2 separate regions of the Homo sapiens genome follow, and region 1 is linked to region 2. Evidence: promoter capture Hi-C in human tissues and cell types (Jung and others, 2019). All regions are on one chromosome and are shown on one strand. Each heading gives the region's core, a stretch centred on a gene start or on the middle of the fragment in contact. The rest is flanking DNA. Distances are from core to core; before and after follow the strand shown.

What was found. Contacts are between HindIII fragments. The study calls those that stand out against the background at their distance.
Region 1: a fragment that was not itself captured here is called in contact with the fragment with the promoter of VSNL1 in region 2 in 1 of the 25 tissues and cell types used here (pancreas).

What each region holds. Positions count from the first base shown.
Region 1 is chr2:17,762,347-17,766,233 of GRCh38, reverse strand. GEN1 (GEN1 Holliday junction 5' flap endonuclease) reads right to left here. Exons shown (of 14, transcript NM_001130009.3): 4 at 1,161-1,337. It overlaps LOC105373449 (a long non-coding RNA gene), which reads left to right. Exons shown (of 4, transcript XR_939762.3): 4 at 1,587-1,777. Among named protein-coding and RNA genes, the nearest start is that of GEN1, 10 kb to the right of the region's middle. The HindIII fragment of the contact is 5,353 bases long and covers 1-3,887 here.
Region 2 is chr2:17,538,495-17,542,059 of GRCh38, reverse strand. VSNL1 (visinin like 1) reads right to left here and starts at 1,364. Exons shown (of 4, transcript NM_003385.5): 1 at 1,142-1,364. RefSeq lists an enhancer at 2,940-3,059. The HindIII fragment of the contact is 10,007 bases long and covers 1-3,565 here.

The DNA.
Region 1 (3,887 bases), core at 588-3,087, 220 kb before region 2:
ATCACACCACTGCATTTCAGATTGGGTGACACAGTGAGACTACGTCTCAAAAAAAGAAAAAAAGTTTAATTATTCCAAAAACTTTATATAAGAAAATTATCCTGATCAGCAGAATCTTTATAGAATCTGACATTTCAATATATGAAAATAAAGTTGTAGTTTCAAAAATGGCTTAAAAATAACTATGCTAGCCAATTTTTTCCATTTTATTGCTTTCTGGTGTCTAAAAAATGTAGATTTCCATCTTACAAAATAAAACACTGTAACATATATATATATATATATTATAGAAAGTAAACATTCCCCGTAACTGCACTGCCTGAGCTATCATTAATAGCTTGGTGCATATTCTTCCAAAAAACCATCTCCTTTGATACATATATATGAATATTTATTGTTAATTACGTTTTTTAAGTAAAAGTAGGATTATATAAAAATACTATTTTGAGAAATTTTCCACCATTAATATGTCTGGATATCTTTTATGTCAATAATAGCCTTTTCAATGACTGCACTGTATTACATCATATGGACTCTGAAACAGTGTTTCTCAATGGGGGTGCTAATATTAGCATTTCGGGAGGGATAGCAGAAATGTCTGGCAGAAGGTTTAGTTTGGTTGGCACCAAGCCATCACATATCTATACTCTCCTTTGCCCAAGCCTGAACTGTTGCAACCAAAATGTCTCCCAGCAGTATCTCTCCAACTGGGAACCAGTAAGTGTGAAGGATTTAACCATGTCCCTATCAATGAGCACTCGGGCTGCTTGCCAAATTTTTGTAATTATTAACAATGCTACATTGAACATCTTTATATCTCTCTCTTTGCATATTTGGAGGTATTTCTGAGGATGAAACACTAAACTGGAAATTCAGGATCAAAGCAACACATTTTCATATGCAATTCGTGATGTATTTTTGAAAATGATTTAGAATCAAACCATGTGAAACAAACAAGTCAAGTTCTTATGAGATAAATCCACATTTTGAAGAGAATGAACTATGTGGCAATGATTTTTAATAACAGTAAGCATTTTAATTAGCAATTGCTACGTGCAAGGCATTACAGTAAGCATTTTATATCTACTATTTCATTTAATCAGCCCTTTAAAAAAGGTAGTTCGTAAACAAATGCTGAAAAAGAGAAAGAAAATAAACACCTTTGTATTCATAGTGAAATTCCTGTAAACAGTCTGGGCCCCATAAAGGAAAGTATCTCCATCATTGGTGAGGCAGCCATCGACATGACCACCAGCATTGAGATAAGCACACATGGCTTCAGCTTCCCCAGCAGCCTGAACCCAGGGGATTCCTAAGCATTCGAGCATATGGAGGCACTGAAAACAAAAAGCAGGTGCAAGATGTTAAAGAATGTTTTCACTGCTCATTTATTTACTATTAAACCTATTTCTGTATTACAAATATTAATAGTAGCTATTTTGGTGTTTTAAAAATTACGATATTTAAGAAACACTTGGAAATTTGAACAATGACTGAATATTTGAGGGCTTTAAGGAATGAACTGCCAAACTTTTACGTGTGCTAATAAAAATTATATTGTGGTTATGTTTCTTTTTATTTTTTAGGAATCATCTTTTAGAAAACATGAAATACAGGGAATGATACAATATTATGTCTACGATTTGCTTCAAAATGATGTGTGGATAGGGGAATAGATGAAACAAGATGAGCCAAGATAATGGTTTAAGATTAGTGATGGGTTACTTTTGTGTTGATTTAAATTTTCTGTAATAAAAAATTAAGATTTTAATGTTAATTACAAAGTAATCCATATTCACATTTCATTGCTATTATAGTCAGATTCTGAAAATATCTTTAAATAATAATTAATCATATTAAGATTTACATCTAGAAGACTTCAATAATTTTTCTCACATGATGGTCAACCCAATACGCGTACTTCCAAAGAAGATGCTATCATACAGTTTTGGCTTGAATTTTAATGTTTGCATTTTTTTCTCATCTTGCCTTCCCTGTACAATGAAACTCTCGTATTGTGGGAAACTGCGGAGAAGTCAGCTGTCAGTGTCCTCCTAGGAAATCAAATGTTTGTGCAGAATGATTACATCATTTTGCTGATGCACAAATAATTTGCTGTGACTTTCCTCTGGTTTATGAATTTAACCCCGCTGGGTAGCTTGTAGTCTGGCCTTATAGCCTAGTTCATTCTTTCTTGTAATACGCCATTCTTTTTTGTCATGTATCATTCTCTATCAGGGACTACTGAGTATGGTGGGGAGAAAAGGCTACTTACTTGTAGTTTCTAGAGACTGACAGAATAAATACCATTTCTTGCTTTGATTAATCACTTCCACGCCACATTACATAATAACTACCACTGTCAGATGTTGCCCAAGGCAGACAAGGTTCAAAAAGTCAAAGTACTATGTTGAAAAATATCACTTTTCAGGACGCTGGCCCCGTGATTTTAGAGAGACAGTTTTGTGACAGTGTTGCTTCGACCTTACCCCTAGGTAAAAAATAGCCTTTCATAATACAGTTATTTCAACTTCTTGTACTATTTGCCACTTCAAATTTTTTCAAAGAACCAGCACAGAATTTCCTATAAGGCTGTTGCAATTTTTCCCACTCTATGTCTCTACCATGTGGGGTGGAGGTGGTATTGGAGGACTACTAATTTGTGCTTTTCATGCGAATACCTAAAAGATAGCAGTGGATTAGGAGGAAGCAGGGCCTAGTAACTGAAGAGTACAGAAATATAAAAATGACTAACAGGCAATACTGAACTGACACAAAATGCCTAAGAACACCATAATTACTGCAGCAATAAAGAAACAGGAATGGAGCAATTTTCTTAAGAAGAGATGGACATCTCTTTTTTTGTTTTATGCTGGTTCTTTAACACTCTAAGATTGAGGACCATGAATATTTCCAGGAATTGATTATACAAGAAGTAATTAGAACTTAGCACAGATATTTTCTTCAACTGCTGATAGTCATTAGGGTGGAATATTCACTAATTGAAAACTATTTTTAAAAGTGAGTAGAAAATAAAATTTCAGAAGAGGAGAAAAATGGCATAATTTTTTAACTAAAATTAAAAAGAAAAACAAATTCAAAGCAAATATGATAGAAGCTTATATCCTTAATACATAAAGAACTTGCACAAAAGAAAAATTAAAACCTCAAGAGGTAAGTAGGTAAAGGACATGATGATAGCCATTACCCAAAGGGAGACTAAAAATAGATGAAATGTTTAACATTACTATTAAAAGACAAATGCATATTAAATATCTTTGTTGTTGCACACTAAATATTACAAAGACAAGCCTCCTAACATCCAATGTTCTTGTGAGTGCACCGACACTGCTTCTCTGACATCTGCATTAGCAGAAATTAATCAGCAAGAGCAATAAAATCATTCCAAAACTTTGACCCATCAATCCAACATTGGGTAATTTTATCTAAAATTTCAAATCACAAGAAAACATTATATACACAAAAAATGTTAATCACACTTCCATGTATAGTAGAGAAAAACTAAAAAAGTAAATAACATATACAATCAGGGGTATGATTCATAGCTTCATACATGTTGCACAACCACTACAAGTTATGATTTTGATTAGAATGTGACAAAAGGGAAATATGACAACATGAAGCATTAAGTGAAAAGGCTAGGTTAAAAATCATGTGTACTACTACAACTCTTTAAAAATACACACATTTGAAAACAGACAAAAAAGGCCAGGCACAGGGGCTCACACCTGTAATCCCAGCACTTCAGGAGGCCGAGGCAGGCGGATCACGAAGTCAGGAGATCGAGACCATTCTGGCTAACACAGTGAAACCCTGTCTCTACTAAAAAAAAAACAAAAAAAACTTAGCCAGGTGTGGTGGCGGGC
Region 2 (3,565 bases), core at 115-2,614:
TCAACTGGAAAGTGATACACAAATAGTATGTACTTAGTGTTCTCCACAACCACCAACAATTCTATTTTATTTTAGTTTCCAAAATACGGACAGGAGGGCAACTCTAGAAAAATGGATTCCCACTCTGGCATCTCACAGGGCACTGATCAGGCAATGCGGAGCACTCATCATTTCCACCATGCAGGGAGCATCAGCCTCTCCTCGCTCCTTCCACGTACACATTCTTGTACCCCTGAGGGTATTCATCATTCTGATTTCCACCCGGGGTTTGACCTTGCAAAGACCCTTCTTCCAGTTTCTGGGCAAGGAACAACCCATTTTAACTCAAAACACAAAACGACCTTTTATCCTTTAAAGAAATACTACCAAATGTAACACACCTTGATTTACATTTTTTAACCCCAGATTCCGGATGGCGAACACGGAATGCAAAGGCAGGTAACTAGTTTGGGTCTGACAGTCCCCATTCAGCGACCGAGCCTGTGACTCCGTTCAAAATCGACAGTGCAGTAGAGCATCTTTCCCTTTTCTGCCCATTCACCATTGTGACAAAAATCAAAGACGAAAAAAATTATCTACTCATTTCTGAATACTGAGAGAAATGTGCTCATTTTGCGCCTGACTCCGTGGATCTTAAACACTAACATCCCGCTCAGAGATCAACCATGATTTCCATACCAATCTCATCCACTCAGTTTTACTTAGCAAACACCTTTGCTGCCCTTCCACAGTGAGAAAAATGGTGCACCAATCCCACGGATGACAGGTTGCTACTCGACTGTACCCGCTCAATAGTTTTATCAGCAACCGGAAAACTTCACAATCGGTCAATTAGCTACTTAAATCTGTCTAAGACAAACTAAGAAAGCATCTCAGTTTCACCTGTCTTAAATCTAGTCTAAGACAATCCCCCAAACACGCCGCATATAAACACTCCCCCTTCCCCCACCCCCAATATTCCAAAAGATCCCCCATGGACTAAGAGCACATTCAGATCGCCAGCATTAAGCAAGGAAATTGTCCCCATGCATTTAGACGCATCTATGCAAAGCAAAGTATGTGACAATAGCCAAAGCATTTCTCTGACAGTTGGTTGCACTACACATGCAGAAATGCAACGAAGATTGTATTTTCCACTTACAGTTACAGCGCTGCGCACGGTCACTTAACGAAAATGATAAAACTCAACAGTTCTTTTTAAAAATATATATTTAATTCGGGTAAACGCTTAAGCCGTCTCTGTGTGTGGTTCTCTCTCGCTCTCTTTTTCTCTGGAGCTCTGGGCTGCTTAAATCCCTCTTGGATCGCGCCTTGCAAGCCCAGCCGCTGCCGCAACACGCTCGGGTAAATCTCTGCTGCAGATTGGGAATCCCATAGAAAACCTAGGGTCCCTGGAGCTGGATGCGCAGGCGCGCGAGCCTCCGCCTCTCCAGGCACCCCCTCCCCTTTCCTCTCTTCCCTCCCCCCAGCTCCGCAGCCCCAGCTAGGAGAACTCGGGAGCCTGTGACCAAAAGCCGCCTGGCGATGGCGCATGCTCAGTCGGAGGGGCTCGGAGTTTCCGCGGGTGGATTCCACGTCTCCAGATTTTAGCAAAAGCTCAAAAGGAAAGTATATAGGAAAAGGGAGTCCGGCTACCGGAGCAACCCGCACCTGGACGGGCGCGAGGGACTGCGGGTTACCCGGACTCGCCACGCCCAGTGGTTACCGAACCTGGGGGCTGAAGGCCGAGGCCAGAGATGGAACACGTGGAGCCGCTTTTCCCGCTGCTTTCTGTCCTAGCCGACCCCCGGCCCACCCTTTGTTAGGCTGTAAGGTGAAGGAGAAAACTGCAGAAATCTCCGAAAGAAGACTTCCCAGCAAGCTGTGAGCACGTCTACCTGGCTTACTGAAGGAACGGTTATGGTGGTCATTTTGTCATGGGCCATTTCATCAGAGGGTCTTCTGCTAGGAGTACTGGGAGCCGGGTCCTGCAGCACCCAGTGCCCCGGACAGTCTCGGTCCAGAACGGCGTTGAAAAAATGTGTGTTAAAGGGAGCTGGGATCCGAGGCTTCTTGCCCTGTGTACCCTGAGCCAAGCGCCTTCTGTATGCACTTAAGTGTTTTTAACATATGCTTTGCGTCTGGGGTGGGAGGGGGTGGGTGAAAGGGCGGGAATGAACCATTTTGCGAACCCACGTTTAAGGGCTCTGATTAGGCCATCTTATAAAGCCCCCTTTGTGTCCTTGAACAACTAACAGGTTTGCCAGCCCTCCCCCCGGCTCCCCATTGGCCTGCCAAAGCCTAGAAGGCTTGGCAAGGAGTAGTGCCCAATAAATGTTTGGTCGGTCGCTTCCCTACCAGAAAAGCAAGGAGAATTCCCAGATGTTCCCAACCAGACCAGTTTTCCTCAAGTGTGTATGTTGTACATGAACTCATTCAACAATTATTCATGGAAGCATTTGCAAAACTATTAGACATTCCTTTATGCTTTGGGAATAAGTGCGGTTAACAAAACCCCCTCCTGGGCTTTACATTCAGGTGGGAGTTTTATTTTCAAGGGAGGGAAGTTCTGGGGGCGAGATGAAGATCGAGGTTCTCCTTAAGCAGAGCGCTGTACAATTTGCACAGCGTCTTCACACACCTTATCATGTTCAGGAAAACTGTAGAGTTGACCTACCCTTCGGTGCTGGGGACACCAAGAGCGTCTCCCGTGGCAAATGAGCTCTAAATTGACAAATCTCCAGCTGCTCCTGGTTCCAAGTCGAGGAGTCCAGCTTTGAACAAACTTGAGACTACTTAAGTGGGCACCAGGAGAAACTCCGCCAGACAAGTCTGTGGCTGTCGACATGCTAAGTGAGGGCCTCAGGCAGTGATGCCTAAGCCTCATTCGCTGCCAACCTAGCCAGCCCAGAACCCAGGAACTGGCTTCCCGGGCAGGACGCCTCGGGAAGGTTGCGCAAAGGGGGAGCGCGCTCTCGGGACTCCCGGGACACCGCCCGCGGCTGTCCCCTCTCGGCAGGGCTCTTCCGCCAGTGCTGGTGACCGCGGAAACCCGGAGCGCGGAGTCGCGCGGACCACGGCGCGCGGCCCCGGCGGGCTGCGGCAGCCGAGCACGTTTAGAATCTGGCGGGCGCCAGCCCTTCGCTCTGGAGCCGCAGTGCGCACTGCGCTGCGGGGCTCCCGGGCGCGCCGGGCTGCTCCTGTTTCCTGGGACTGGCAGGGGGAGTCAGTCCTGAATAAGTCACTTTTTCTTTTTAGCTAGAAAAACGACTTTCAAAAGGCTTTCAAAATCTCGTCTTTGGTCGATTTCCCCTACTACAGCATTTTACGCTGAGTTCTAGTTTCTCTCTCGAGAACAGCCTCCGCACTGTAATCTGCATCAACCCAAAGGGTCATGATGCCATTTCTCCACTTCAACGAGATATACCTATTTATTGCACCCTGGAGGTCTCTTTCGTGGCGGTGTTCGATTTTAGATAACTTACTTGCAACTTGTGTTTAGGAAAAAATGTACACTGATACTTTAAACCATGCTCTGTTGTAGGGTACGATTGATATCGACGCGTGCGCTTTTGTAAAGTAGCTT